Regions from separate parts of the Homo sapiens genome. Here regions 2, 3, 4 and 5 are each linked to region 1. The links are contacts of gene promoters, found by promoter capture Hi-C in human tissues and cell types (Jung and others, 2019). All regions are on one chromosome and are shown on one strand. Each heading gives the region's core, a stretch centred on a gene start or on the middle of the fragment in contact. The rest is flanking DNA. Distances are from core to core; before and after follow the strand shown.

What was found. Contacts are between HindIII fragments. The study calls those that stand out against the background at their distance.
Region 2: a fragment that was not itself captured here is called in contact with the fragment with the promoter of NKAIN2 in region 1 in 1 of the 25 tissues and cell types used here (mesenchymal stem cells).
Region 3: a fragment that was not itself captured here is called in contact with the fragment with the promoter of NKAIN2 in region 1 in 1 of the 25 tissues and cell types used here (dorsolateral prefrontal cortex).
Region 4: a contact is called between a fragment that was not itself captured here and the fragment with the promoter of NKAIN2 in region 1, in 1 of the 25 tissues and cell types used here (hippocampus).
Region 5: a contact is called between a fragment that was not itself captured here and the fragment with the promoter of NKAIN2 in region 1, in 3 of the 25 tissues and cell types used here (dorsolateral prefrontal cortex, hippocampus and lymphoblastoid cells).

Annotation. Positions count from the first base shown.
Region 1 is chr6:123,802,431-123,805,334 of GRCh38, forward strand. It overlaps NKAIN2 (sodium/potassium transporting ATPase interacting 2), which reads left to right and starts at 1,435. Exons shown (of 7, transcript NM_001040214.3): 1 at 1,435-1,824. The coding sequence starts at 1,771. RefSeq lists an enhancer at 191-240. The HindIII fragment of the contact is 12,261 bases long and covers 1-2,904 here.
Region 2 is chr6:124,309,865-124,312,768 of GRCh38, forward strand. The region is part of intron 2 of NKAIN2 (sodium/potassium transporting ATPase interacting 2); the gene reads left to right. Among named protein-coding and RNA genes, the nearest start is that of NKAIN2, 510 kb to the left of the region's middle. The HindIII fragment of the contact is 5,652 bases long and covers 1-2,904 here.
Region 3 is chr6:123,390,765-123,393,668 of GRCh38, forward strand. It overlaps TRDN (triadin), which reads right to left. Exons shown (of 41, transcript NM_006073.4): 13 at 2,860-2,904. Among named protein-coding and RNA genes, the nearest start is that of TRDN-AS1, 47 kb to the right of the region's middle. The HindIII fragment of the contact is 3,038 bases long and covers 136-2,904 here.
Region 4 is chr6:124,079,481-124,082,384 of GRCh38, forward strand. All of the region lies in intron 1 of NKAIN2 (sodium/potassium transporting ATPase interacting 2), which reads left to right. Among named protein-coding and RNA genes, the nearest start is that of NKAIN2, 280 kb to the left of the region's middle. The HindIII fragment of the contact is 5,382 bases long and covers 1-2,904 here.
Region 5 is chr6:124,059,564-124,062,467 of GRCh38, forward strand. The region is part of intron 1 of NKAIN2 (sodium/potassium transporting ATPase interacting 2); the gene reads left to right. Among named protein-coding and RNA genes, the nearest start is that of NKAIN2, 260 kb to the left of the region's middle. The HindIII fragment of the contact is 5,490 bases long and covers 1-2,904 here.

The sequences.
Region 1 (2,904 bases), core at 185-2,684:
GTAGGCGCCAAGTTCCAGTTGCTACAGAGAGCTCTCTGCTTGATGTGGCTTCGTCATCTTAATCTCTTAAGAAGGGTGCTAGGGAGCTGTTTGCTATTTAGCTCCCTAAACCATCCTCTTATCAATCGCGACACTTCACCCCAATGAGTCAGTTCCTCAGTGGATCTCAACAAATAATCTTCACTTCCTGGAAAAGTTAGGATTGCTTTCCTTAGCTGCCAGGGCTAAAAAGGAAACTTGGTCCTAAATATCCACGCCCCAGGGGCAGCCACTTGGGCCAGCATGTTGCGCCCTTCAGCTTTCCGCCCGCAGGTGGCAGCAGCGGGCTCCGAAGCCTGTCTCTGCAGGTAGCAGCCGCTTCACAGCTTTCAGGCCGGTGCTCAGCGGAGGCTGGTGCATCTCCACTAGGAATCCACACCCAGCTGGGACTGCTGTGAAGCTGAAGTAACTGAGTATTAAACTAGTCTCCGACTCTTTAGTATTTTAAGTGAAAACAAACAACAGTTTGAAGCAGCAACAGCAACTCATTGCATCCCTATTCCCTCCGGTTGCTAATTTTTCCCAACTCCAGCAGCAACTCGGTCCCCTTCCCCAAGCAGGGTCGGCTCCGTAGCTCTCCGCGCTCCGACCCTTCAGATCCTCGGGAGCCCAGGGGAGCCAGGTGCTGGGCGGTGCGTCCGGTGCCGCCGCGCCCCTTCTCGCCACCTCTGGCCTCTCCGCCACTCGGGCTTTCCGGCCGCTCTGGATGCCTCGGTTGCACCCCTGTTCCATGACCCCAGCTTCCTTCCCTAACCCTCCTCTTGGTCCCTTCTCCCCCGAGCGCGCGCGCACACACACACTCGGTTCGCTCCCGCGGAGTGGCTCTGGGAGCACGACCGACTTCAGCTCAGCAAACCGCGGTCATGCCGCCCAGACTCCTCGCCCCGAGGCCCCGGTCCCCGCCGCCGCCGCTTTCGCGCCGCTCCTTTCCGCCTAGACACCGCCGCCTGCGGCCGCCTGGGCGGCAGCCCCTGCGGTCCTCAAAGTTGGCCCCCTGGGAGGGGGCGGCAGGGAGCAGGATGAAGGATTTGTTGTAGGAGGAGGATTCACACATCTGGGCGAAGGGAGGGGCAGCGCCGCTGCTGGGACGCGGCGCGGACCCGCATCATTGCGCGCAGCAGCCGCTGCAGCAGCCGCCGGGGACCGCGGAGCCGGGACGCCCCCGCTCGGCCCGCGCCCCGCTCCCCGCCCCACCCCCGCCCGCCGGGCCCAGCAACGCAGGGTGCCTAGGAGCCGCGGGCTGCGCAGGGAGGCGGGCAGCGGCCCTCGCGCGCTTCTGCCGCCCCCGGAGCCGGCGCGCGGCGAGCGCAGGGCGAGCGCGCGTCGGGCGGCGGCCGCGCTGGGGGGCGTGAGGCGAGCGGCGCGGAGAGCGGCAGGGGCGAAACTTCGCGGGCCAGATGCCCGAGGGCGCGGCGGCGCTGCCAGGCTGCCGCTGCTGCCCCTGCGGGCCCCGAGCGCGCCTCCGCAGGCGGCACTGCCCGCGGCGCGGCGTGTGCACCGAGCGAGTGAAGGTATGTGTGGCGGGCGCGGCTGGAGCTGCCGCCGCCGCCGCCGCCGCGCCAGCAGGTCCTAATGCCTGTCACTTCCCAGGACGCTGGCAGCAGCAGCAGCCCGGAGCCCCCGAGCCCTCGGCAGGTTTGCGTGTCCTTCCCCGCGATCTGATTGGATAAAGTGGGGGCTCGACGGTGGCCGACGTGGGACAGTCTGGCTGTGGCAGGGGTCTCGGAAACCATGGGTTATTGCAGTGGCAGGTGCACGCTTATCTTTATCTGTGGCATGCAACTGGTAAGTGACACTTGGGTCCCCTTATTCTGTAATGTGTCTTTGAGATAGTGGGCAGGGGAGTGCAGCAAAGGGTCTGCCATTGACTAGAATGGACGAAAAAGATAAAAGAGAAGGTGACAGATATATTGCCTATATTGAAGATGATTTCAGGGAGACGCACTCTGGGGTACAGGAGAGGTGAGCCTTTCCGTTCCCACCTATTTCTGTCCCTTTTAAGACAGTTTGGCAGGTGCGGGTTAAACTTGTCTTTAATTTCTTTAGGAAAAGCAAGATGTAGCTCTTGTTCTTTATGCTTTGCATTCCTATTCATGTAACAACGTGATTGTCACCTACAATTTACCGTACAGGTTGTTAAACAGAGGAATACGGAATTTTGGACTTTTCTTCTCTATACTAATTTTGCAGTATCTTTGTTTCTTCATAGACATGTTTTTTTTCTTTTTTTAAGGAAAATGTTGTCTTTAAGTATAATGCTCTAAAAAAACCACTGTTTAGGGCACATGGTATCCTTACAACAGTCTAATTTAGACTGTTTGAGTTTTAGCCACATTGAGTTTTTAAAGTATGCAGATTGAACAAAAATACTTAGGTGAACTCAGCAACACCATTGTCATAGACGGAACCAGTAACCTTTAAATCACAATTAACACAGACAATTCCAAGAAAAACTATTCTGTCTTACATTATGCATATTATTGCTCCTGAAATAGATACTGTTGTCTGATCCTATAGGATGGAGAATTCTATGTACTTTTTGAGGAATGTTGTACAGTTGCAAAGGGGCAAGGAACCAATAATGGAAAACGTCATGTCTCTGAATTTCAATTCCCTAAGGGCAATGGAAGGAGGGTCTGAGTAGAGAGTTGAGAGGTGAAAAATACACCACTCTAAGTGGTTAATTTGAGGTAGGAGCTACTTGCTCACACTTGTCATTAAATATATTTCCTTAGAAAGTATAAATTAACTGGAATAGTCATGTCCGTTTTCAACAACTGTTTCATAAAGGTTGAAGTGACTACAAGGCAGAAGATGTTTAAGTGTCCAATCAGTAAAGTGTTCAAAAGAGCAAGGATTTGCCAT
Region 2 (2,904 bases), core at 126-2,625, 510 kb after region 1:
CTCTTTTTTTCTTCTTTCCCTTCTCTCTCCTTCACCTTTACCTTTTGCCAGTCTTCTCACCTTCATTCTCACTCTTGGGACTTAAGACCTCAAACAATAGTAAAAGAGGTAAAATTACTTAGTTCAGCTTATTTCCATACATAGGTCAGACTTGAAATACCTGTGTTTCACAGAAACTAAGTTCTTTCAGATAAATGGAGCTTGGTGGGAATAGATGTCCCGAAATGTTTATCATAAAAGCACACAACTGATGAAATACTAAAATGAGATCAAACCACGAAGAAAAATGAAGAAAAATGCATTGAAAAGCACATAGCTGTTTTAGTATTGTTAACATGGGAATAGAAGATGATATATATAGTTATGTTAGTACTTTCATTTATGTAGATTTTTTTTTGTAATTTTATTTTTATTATTTGTGCAGCTGCATTATAAGTGCCTTGTATTGCCATGCCTGCATAGAATGGTATTGCTGACACATCATTAGTAATAAGAGATTTTCATTCCTTAAGACAAAGACTTTAATGATCTTTCTGAAATCATAGTTAGAAAGTTAATATTTGAAATGCATTACATGTTTTAACAAACAGAATGTGGGCTACAGATTTTTTTTTCTTTTTTTATGTATCTACAGCTCACAGAAAAACTAAATGTACCTCCCTGGGTTGTGATTTGTTAGGATGAACTAAAAAATATTACTGTCCCTTGGAGGACGTTAGGAACCTACAATGAATTTGAAACATACCATGCACTTCTTACAGGATAAGTAGATTCATTCAGAAATTAACTGAAAGCCGAAAGTAGCTGTTCTGCCAAATATGACCCGAATCTCCACTGAAGTCAGAGGTGATGTTAGTGAATAATTATGATCTTGATTCTTAGATTGCCAGCGAATTCCTCTCACAATTAGTTTGACCAGATATGTTCAGAATCCCAGGCCCTGAAAGCTAGAAGTGATACTAACAATGAGATTAGCAGCAAAAGGAAGGCAGCGTGGTAAGGTGGAAGCACACTGATCTGAGAGTTAAAAGCTTTGGTCCCGGTGTTGGTTTCACAGTGTTTGCAACTAAAAATCTGTGAACAAAATCACTCATTAATAAAGAAACAAAACTAATTTTGTTCATTCCTAACTAAAGTTGTTTGAAGACTTTCAAATTTCCTTCCGTAAGTAAAATTCTGGGTCTAAAGCCACAATTTTCAAAGTTTGAACACCTGATTTCCCTTTTCATCAACTTATTAGGAGAGATTTTAATATGTAGAGCAAAGAACAGTGAAGATACTCAGTGAAAGCAGAAAGAGGGGACAAAGGCCCACACTTCCACTGTGACCCCCATCCTCAGTCCAGAGCAGGGTCTTCAGAGCAAGTCTGCAGAGTTGGACAATACTGAGAAGCCCTAATTTTGGACAAGATAAAATATTAGCAATTATAAACAGATAAGACTACTATATCCCATTTGAAAATACACAAGGAGGAAAATGCCACAAACTCTCCGCATTTAATAGGATTATGGACCCAGCAAAGTTTCCCCACTTGTACAAACCACCCTGTGGCCATGCGCTCACATGCTTCCATTGTGTGGATATGCTTCTGGGCCACCCTGAAAATATTTATATATCCACTGCCACCATGGAAAAATCATAGATTTGCTTTTCACGTTTTAAAAATAGGAAATTTCAAATAAGTCAGTTTCTAAAGATTACATCTACTACGTTTACTTATGTGAAAACAAATGTAAGCAGGAAGCAAAACGCAAATAGGGAGGAACATGACCAGGATGGAGTTAATAACGTGAGAGGCACGTTTGCTTATTGAATTTGCATTCACATGCTCAGTAGAGCCCATTCTTAATTGGTATCGTTAGTGATTATAAAGTCACAACATGTTCACTAGTGTCTTAAGAGACCTGGTTGCAGAAAAGAGACCATTGCCTGTCTGATGAATCTATTCCTTTCACTTTGTTTTCCTGTTTATAAAAAATATGTATTTTTTAGCTTTCAAAGGTTAAACGTATGTGGTATAAAAATGCAAGCAACACAGATAAAGCAAAAATGTACTCTCCTTTACTCCCAATAACTACTAGTAAGTAGTGGTTAACAGGATTGACCACTGTTAACCTCTAATTCTAACCCCTGTCAACCTCCAGTTGTAAACTTTGGGGAGAGAGAAAGAGGTATATAAATAGAGAAAACCTATGCAAACATAAAATCACACACTTTTTATTTGCATACATGGGAGTATTTAGCATCGCTTTCTCTTTTTAACTCAATGCTATGCTATGGTCATCCTTCCTTCTGTGTCAGTGTGAGTGAAAAAAACACAAACTTTACACCACAACAATCAGCATTGAAGACTTCTGTGACTTAATGTGCAGAGATTTCTCCCCACCAGCAAGCAAGAAGTCTATTCTGCTGCAGACACCAGCTAGCTGTCTTCCAATTCAGTTCTGACACTCTACCTGGAGATAGCGTCAGATCCCACAGGTTGAGACTCAGTCCCAGAAAACTGCACCCCCTTCAGACACCAGTTGCATGTCCAGGCCTCTGGAACTTCTGACAGACCTGCTTTCAGTTGGGTTCTCATAACCCCTCTTTGGGTTAGATTAACCTGCTAGGACAGTTCAGGGAAATACTTACATTTACCAGTTTATTATAAAAAGAATATTACAAAGAATACAGATGAAGAGATGCAAAAGGCAGGGTGTGGGGGAAGGAGCACAGAGCTTCGGTGCCCTCGCTGAGTGTGCTGCTCTCTGGGAATCTTCATGAGTTCAGCTGCCTAGAGGCTCTTCATACCGTGTCCTCTTCGGTCTTTTATGGAGACTTCATTGGCTAGTTACGATTGAAGCAATGAACAATTATGCATAAATGTGATTGGACAAAAGGGTGTGATCTAATGCTAATAGA
Region 3 (2,904 bases), core at 405-2,904, 410 kb before region 1:
CTGAATTTACTGAGTAGACATGGTTCTCAATAACTGGGTTTTTGGTTTTCACATTGTAAAAAGACTGGAATGGCTAACATTCTAGTTTTGTTGATGTTGTTCTCTTTCTGTGTTCTTCCTATAGTATCCAGGAGATTCTTAATGTTTGCTTCAGGAATCCAGAAGAAAAAAGCCAGTGGAAATACACTAACACAGAGTGCACATACCCCATCTTTTAAGCCGAGTTCCATTACGGCATGTGTTCTCTCTTTGGCATTTTAATATCACTAGGTGTCTACCTCATCATTGCACCTAACTGATTAAAAAAATAATTCCCCATCTCTCTCCTTCCTTTCCAATTTGGGTCTATATCAATTTCTTCCAACAATTTTTTATGTAATACCTGTGAACTAGATTGATCCCCCATCTAAATTCTAATTGGCTCCAAAAAAATTATTGTCCAATTATTTTACTTTTGCTCAACATTCATCCACTGAAGAATGAATCATCTTTTCCCTTCAGCTAGTTTTTTCCCTTCAGCTAGTTTCTTCCCCTGAAACTTAATATTTTTAACAATTACCATCTCCTAATTACCCAGTTTCCAAAGCTCAGTATCATTTTTATTCTTTCCTTTGTTTCTTTTGATATACTCTATCAGATATTAGTTCTTCAAAATGTTAATGACATTTGTGCTTTTTTTCTTATGTCATTGCCACCATCCTAGTTGAGGTTATTGTCTCATGTCTTAATAGAAACAAAAGCCATTCCTTATATCTACCTAAATTTCTTAGATCTCCAAATTGGAATTTCCTGTAGTAGTGAGATATTTATTTTGTTGCCTCCTCAGTGTCTCAAAACTTTGTTAAAATAATTTCCTTAAATTATTTTAAAATTCCAAAGAATATATGCTAAATCTTAATAATAGTTATAAATAAATATGAACATATATACATACATATGTATGGAAAGCCAGATTTTTAATATGTCCTTTGTTGTAAAAGTTAAAAATAAATAAATGAACAGATCTAATCTAGCCTTTTACCATGCCACAAAGATCATGATCAATTTTGTCACTTTATACTTCAAAAAATCAGTCTACTATAGGATTATTGCCAATTTTAAGTTTTGTCTCCACGTGAAGTACTTGCAAATATTAATTATTTATATGCATAATTTAATTATATGCCTATGGCATTAAAATAAACATATCTAAGAAAGATCTATGGAGGATTTGCAAAGACGCGAATGATATGCAGTTCTGCTTTGATGTGTCCCTGCATTGGTGTGTCATTTTTATTTTAGTAAACGCATACACAGAATACCTCACTCTTGCCTTGTTCACTGTGCTTCATCAATCTTTTCATCCAATTTCCTTCCAAGGATAATTCTAACAAGACTTTGAAACTCTTGGTTACTATTTCCTCAAAAATAAATATTTTATTCCAAAATGATAAGCTCTAAGGTTGACTTGTCCAATGTAGTTTAAATCTTGAATGGTTAAATGTAGTTTAAAGAGCCCATGGCCTCAAGCTCAAATATGAATCAAATTTTCAGATATCTCTTCATTTTCCTCCTCATGAATGCCTCTAACATGAGGCTGAAGTAACTAACACAAAATTCTTGCCTCAAGTCGTAGTTCCACATCTACACTATGGTCCTCAGAAGTCTCAGTCAAACAGAATGAGCCTAAGGTGATTGTGGTTTTCTATGAAAACATATATACACTAATAGCAATGATTTCTTAAACTGGTAGTCATTGGCTTGAGGAACTCACCCTGACCTGCATTTTCATGTATTAAAAAACCAAAGGTAATAATATTTGTCCTGCCTTTCTATCGTTCATAATATTTACTATATTCCCTATCAGAACTTTCCTAAAGAAAAACAAGTTTTTCAATGTGAAAACTAAAAACTGGTATCATAGCTTTTAATCATTCTAGCTTATTTTGCTCACAGACAACATCCTCGAGTCAAATGGCATTTAACAAACCCATGTTACCAATATTTTCGGGGGTGATTCTGCATGTTGCTGGGTCCAAGATTAAATACAAGAGAAAAATTTTGCTCAGATGTAATACATTCGGTCATACATCATGTGATGTGCTAAGAAGTCTGCTATGAGAGCCTTCTACCCCTGAAAATTGTACCACCACCTATGTGCATCTCCTTTATTGCTTGATATTATATAATCTAGCATAGAAGAGATGATAAAGATCTTCTCCAGTAAACATTGTATCTTTTATTTTCTAAGTGTGTTCCATAAAGTTTTGCCACATAACAAAGGCAGAACACTTGAACCCTTCCCTCATGCTTTCATCAAATTAATCCTCATGGTGTGAGACGAAACCACTTTAGTTATCCTGAAGATATTTGTAAATGGTGAAATTAATTTTCTTAGATGGCTCATAAAAATAGGATAATTATTTTGTAGCCATATCTGGAACCCCATTTTTACAGTTTTGATGTTTATGAAGTAATATTGCTTTAATAACATTCTGATCTTCTCATGTAACATAAATTACAAGGTATACTGAAAATTATAGAAAAGTGTACATTATTTTATATCTGTATTTGTATTTCTTTATGCACATCAATGGATTATTTTTAAAAATATACATAAAGCTCAAATACTGAAACTTGGAGCCAAGACTAGTTCTTGGGTCCTTCAGCAGTTCCTCTGCAAATTTGGCATTACTCTCAGTCATGCTTGCTCCAATTACTAAATAAATACTTGAACTGTGTATTTTCATTCAACAATATTTTTTTTGCAATATCCCAGCAGATGGTGCTATTCTGCAATAAACAGCTTTTGCTTTTGTCAATAAAGTGCTATAGATGTTTAAAAAAAGGCAATGCTTTTTAAAGTGTTTTATTGCTTACCTTGTGCTGCAATTTTTACAGTCCCTTGTTTGGTTTCAGAAGCTT
Region 4 (2,904 bases), core at 143-2,642, 280 kb after region 1:
CTCATTTGTTTCTCCTGGGTATCTGTGTGTTTGTGTGAGTTTGAGAGAGAAACAAGGATACATTATAACTTTAAAAGTATTTATAGCCTTTGATAATAAGGTGATCAATTGAAGAAATTAACAGTATTCTAGTATTTCATTTAGCTGAAGCAAGATATGCTTTACCGACTTTTAGCTATCCTCCTTTTTTCCTCTTTCTGCTTAGGAATTCCACTAAGTTGGCATGTAAACAGATCACAGGCTGTGTCAGTTTAAAACTTCTTGTTCTGGGCATGCCATTTATTTTGCTAAGCCTGTAGCACTAGGGAGTATTAGCAAAAGCATAATTTACCTTATAGTGACAGTCTCCCGAAACACAGGAAACCTGCCTTTCTTGTGTCACTGAGCGAACAAAGGTAAAGTTAAAGGTAGTGGGCAGAAAGGAAAGAAAGGGTGGGGTTGGGGGGTGGCATTTGGATGGAAAAAAAAAAAAGGGAAAAAACTTTGTCCTCAGAGAGAAATGGTGGGTGGGAGGAAGTAGATTGTAGACCTAGATGGGAAAGGAAGCTTGGGCATCAAAAGATTAAGGATGTGTGAAATATAGATTAACGCCCATGGGAGTCTGACTGATAAAAAAGCTGGGACAACAGGTCTCGCTCAGCAGCCCTGAGAATCAGGCTTCCAGGGTGGTTTCCTACACTGGGCGTCTTGTCTGAGTTTACCTAGGCTAATATATTTTCCCATCTCTCCTTGGGACTCTACTTCTGTAAGGGGAAGATACAGTACAATTTGCCAGAGGTATTTGCTCAGTTATTCAAGATCTTAGACAAAAGGCTGTCTTGTTCCTAGAAGCTAGAATGTTAGAATTGAGTTAGCCTCTTGCAGTTTCTTCTGGATCTATCAGTCTCAATATACGTGAGTTACAGTTTTCATTGTTTTCTTACTTAAATCATTTTGATTGTCAGAGATATTTTTAAAGATTTGAATGTCACAGGTCTCACAGTTTCATTTTACTAATTCTTGCTTGTGTGTCTTAAATATTTTTTATCAATTTTCCATTTTATATATAATATACATATAGACTGTTGCTAATGTTGTTTGTAATAATCCCTTGAGTTTATATTAGACCAAAAAACATTGTACCAACTACATTTCCCAATTAAAAGGAAAAGGAAAAGGAAGAAAATAAACTGAGGATAATTAGCACTTTAACTTTATGGCCCTCCCTGATTGAATCTAGCTCTGCACACAAACACACACGACTACTAGCAAAAACACTCCCCCCCTCCAAGATCTTTATAGAAGGCCTTTTATATCCTCTTCCTTCTTTCCTGTATTTCTATAAATGGGAAAAATATGTTTGAAACAAACATCCTGGTGTTACAAATTTCTAACACTTTATCTAATACCATGTCATATTACCAGAAACTTCAGAGAAATCAGGAGTCCTTGTAGACTAAATTATTGATGATAAACTAACTCGCCTGCATAGGTATAAATCCCACCATAGTAATAAAAATTGATTTCAGGGCAGTTAGTTTCAAACATTTATTTATTCATTGGCATATGAAGGTATAGATAACATAAAAATAAAGTTCCTAGTCTTAAAAAAGAGTCGTTTAATCCTATATTAAAAGATTTATATTGCATATTGACTTTCCTCTATGCAGTTTTTACTTGGAACTTTTAAAGATTTTTGTCTGCCACAGGAATTCTTGATGACTGAGGAGTTTTAGTTCTTATTTTAGTTAATCCTAATTTTAGTTATTCATATGCATAAATTTCAAATCAATCTATTAATGTTTGTCAAACTGCAGAAAATATAAAACATGGTATTTCTGTTTAGTAATGAGACCAATTTTATTTGTGTGTGATTGTTGAAATCAAATAAGACATTTTGAAATAAGGTTATATTACTAGTTTACCAGAATTTTTATGTTTCATTCACTTAGGTTTTACATAAAATTTGCATTCATTTTTACATAACATATTCTGTTTCTCCTCTTTACTAGAATTGAATGGTATTATCTTTAGAATGTCTAAATAAAGTTCTTATGTATAATGCTTGGTAATTACTCATAAATGCTGTTTTCTCTACCAGATACATTTTGCAAAAGAATGTTAAGAGGAGAAAAACACTTGCTTATTACTTTCAGTAAAGGATATTAAAGTTTAGTTGAATTTTCTAGCAGAGTCATGAAATAGAGTAAATATTAAAATATACTATAGTGCTTATTGAAAATATTGGGAATCAAAATTCTGACTTTTCAAGGCCAATTTGCAATACACCATAGACTTATTAGTGCCAGAATTTACTTTAGGCAATCCAGTTAAAACATGTCTTATTACAAGATGGAGAAAAAGAGGCCAAAAGTATTAAGTTTGTGAGTTGGATCACATACAATTACATATTATGTTAAATATTCTTAGCAACAATCATTAAATTAAAAGTCTATCCTCTTCAGTGTCTTGCTGAGCTTTATTAAGATTGCAGGTATTCAATAGAACAAAGGAGTAAATTCAATCCACCCCTGCCCTTAAGGTAGAGAGAGAAATAAAGCCAATACAGATAGTGAATAATGTGATGGGAAGGGTATTTTAGGAACTGAAAGAAACAGGTAAATAACCCAAGCCTAGAAACTTGGCGCATGGGTGGCATGATGGAAACCATAGCATGGTGGTGGGCAACAGGAAGGGAAGGGAGACCTGAGCTGAGTTTTGGACTATAAATTATTGGCAAGGACTGCATCTGATGTTAGTAGTCTTTCCACTGTATTCTTATGCTAAACATCAATGAAAATCAAAGTGTTATATGAGTTATTTACTACGTCCTTTTTTATCCAATTGCTTAATGCTATAGGCTCTTAATGTAAGCTTAATATTAATTAGGCTTAATATTAATGCAATTTTCTTTAATTCTGAAGT
Region 5 (2,904 bases), core at 304-2,803, 260 kb after region 1:
CATAGTGCCTACTACAGTTCCTGGCACAGAGTGGATATTCAGCACATGTGAATGCATCCGCCTGACTCTGTTGTATTATTGCCACTCCTTTTGTGTCGAGTGCTTCAGAGGTTCCATCCACTGCTCTTCACATCCTGAGCTTCCATTTGGTCTTTGGCTCTAGGTTGGCAGTTCAGCATTCATACAAATTTTAGTCTTGATCTCTGCTCTAAATGGACTCTCTGGGTACAGAATGTGACATCTCTTTGTTTTTTTCCTCCCATTTTCACATTTTGCTCCTATTATCTTTGCTTATTTGTGTCTAGAGCTAAGCAGCCCTTTTCTGTCATGGTGTTCATTATTTTATATTCTTCATATAATGGAGAAGCAGAGTACCTTGTGAAACAAATAGTTTCCTTGTAGCTTATGCTGCATTGTTTTCAATTTTTTTGTCTATGAGTGTTTCCAAAGTTCGAGTATGAACTACTTGTGGGCAGAGGCCATATCTTTTAAACTGTATTTCTTTGTACTTAGTACAACATCAGAGCAGGCAAGGATGTGCTCTCGAGAAATATCCCTGAATGAGGAGTATGGTTAACTCCACTGCTGTGTGGGCTAATGGACCAAGCATCAGAAGAGACAATCACAATCACATTTGGCTTTCAGAGACACCTTGATCCTGTTATGCCTAGGGCCTATGCCAGTCACAGGTGTATTTTATTGGCATTTTCGTAGGTGCTTGATTTGCACTCTCAGAGCACGTGTAAACCAGCCTGAATCAAATTAGCCTCTATGCAGTTGTTAACAATTGATTGCAGAGCCTGAGAAAAGAGGAAAAGTTTCTTGTATATACCACGTCCTCCACCCAGCTAGGATTGAAGCTGCATAGAAAAGAGAGGAGAAGCATAAAAAAGCACAGGTTGGGGCAGTGAAGTCTCATCCAGCCTTAGCAGATACAAGCAGAAAGCCTGTGTTCCATTTTGTACACATTTAGAAGTTCAGCTTAACTTCACAGTTTCCAGAAACAGAACTGGAACACCGTTCGCCAAAATGTAAGTTATGTCTGCCATGTTTAACATATTTGCTATAAATCCATTGCCTTGAATAGTAGAGAATATTTATTGCATGAAAGGATAACTTTTTCCTTGTTTGCTTACTCATCTAGTAAAGTTTAGCAGACTAGGTACAACTTAAATTTCATCGTCAGTGTTTAATTATAAAACTTTAAGGTACAGCTTTAAAAAATATAAAACAATAGAAAAATTGGAAAATATGCAACACAATGTTCTTTCTGTGATATTGTCAAATGCTTTGGCATAAAAATATTCAGCCACTAAAAATAAAATGTCATCCAGCAATGGAAAAATACTACAATACGAGAAAAAATGATGGATAAAAAAAGAGCATTGCTATAATGATTAATGATAATATGGCTTTTTATTTTAAGTACATGCAGTTTAGGAGAAAGCTTTCAGCATGTATAACATGTTGAAAATAAGTGTTCATGTGATTTGATCAAAGGGCTCCAATCTCTGAGAGACAGTAAATAATACAGTATTTAGGAAATTGCTTTAAATATTTATTTCTCTGATTGGCTAAGATTGCTCACAAATTGCAGCATGTTTTGGATATTGTAAAAGCAAGTCTGAATAACACATGCATCTTGAAGATAAATAGGAGTACACCACCATATATGTGCTGGAGTTGGGGAAAATATTCTCAGTAATAATGACATTCTCAAAGGTGTTTTTAATGATTGACTCCTAAACAGTTTACAATGTTATTATATAATCTTTTTTATTAACCCTTACAGCTATTTTATGGGAAAGGTGGGAAGCAAGGTATCTTTTCAAAACTTTCTCAAAAAGTCTTCAATTTTTCTCTTTCTCTATATTTTTATCAAAAATTAGACAATGCATGTGATTCTGTAGGGGGATTCCATTTGAGATGTAATTTAAATGATGGAAACTTTCTTACACTATGAGTGTCTTATGAAAAGGCAAGAAGTCTTGGTATTCAAAGAGAGTAAATGCAGAACTGTTCAAATATTCCTTCCCTCTCTACCCTTTTGATCCTGTCATGTTTTAACAATTTTTAAAGGTGATTTAAACATTGGGGGATGCACTACCCCTAAGCACTGTCTGTTTTTAGAGTACTCATACTGCTTAGCAACCTTTGACAATAAGCCATACCAAAGAAGAGATCTAGTATGAAAATCTCAGAAGTGAGTCCACAAATACACATCAAAAATAGTAATCTCCAGAGCTTTTAAAAAATACTTTTTCACGTAAGAAAACTTAGAAATGATATCTGTAATTAATCCTTGCCCTTTAAAAAATGTTCTTCATTGATTTATCATTCTTAAGATGAGCAAAGTAGAGCTAGAGATAAGAGAATGGAGAAAATAACAAAGAAAAAGAATGTGTGTTTTAACACAAACGTGGTGCAGAAACTGAGATATCTTTAGCAATGGGAACATTTTTCTACCAACCAAATAAAACCAATGTTATACTTTTAAAACCGTTTCTTTCAATCTGTTGCTCAAGTAGGCTTGTTCATTACAATGATACGTAAATATAAATAAAAACTTAAGTATAAACGTGAAATTTGCTAACCTATTTTTTTCAATTAAGTTTATGGCCTACATTGTTTTGTATATTTAATATAGTGTTTAAGATTAAGAACATAATGTTTTAGCATACCTTCTTAATGATGGAAATACCATTTATTGTTATATAAACCCCCAGTATAGGACATTTTGTTGATATTATAAATATTGTGACAATGAGTAGCTTCATGTCTGCGCATTTGCTTATGTCTCAAAAATATTTTATATTTCCCTAGAATAGAGTTCCAGGAATAGCTGATTTCAGTTTTTGTTGTTGTTATTGTTGTTGTTATTTTGAGACAGGATCTCACTCTGTT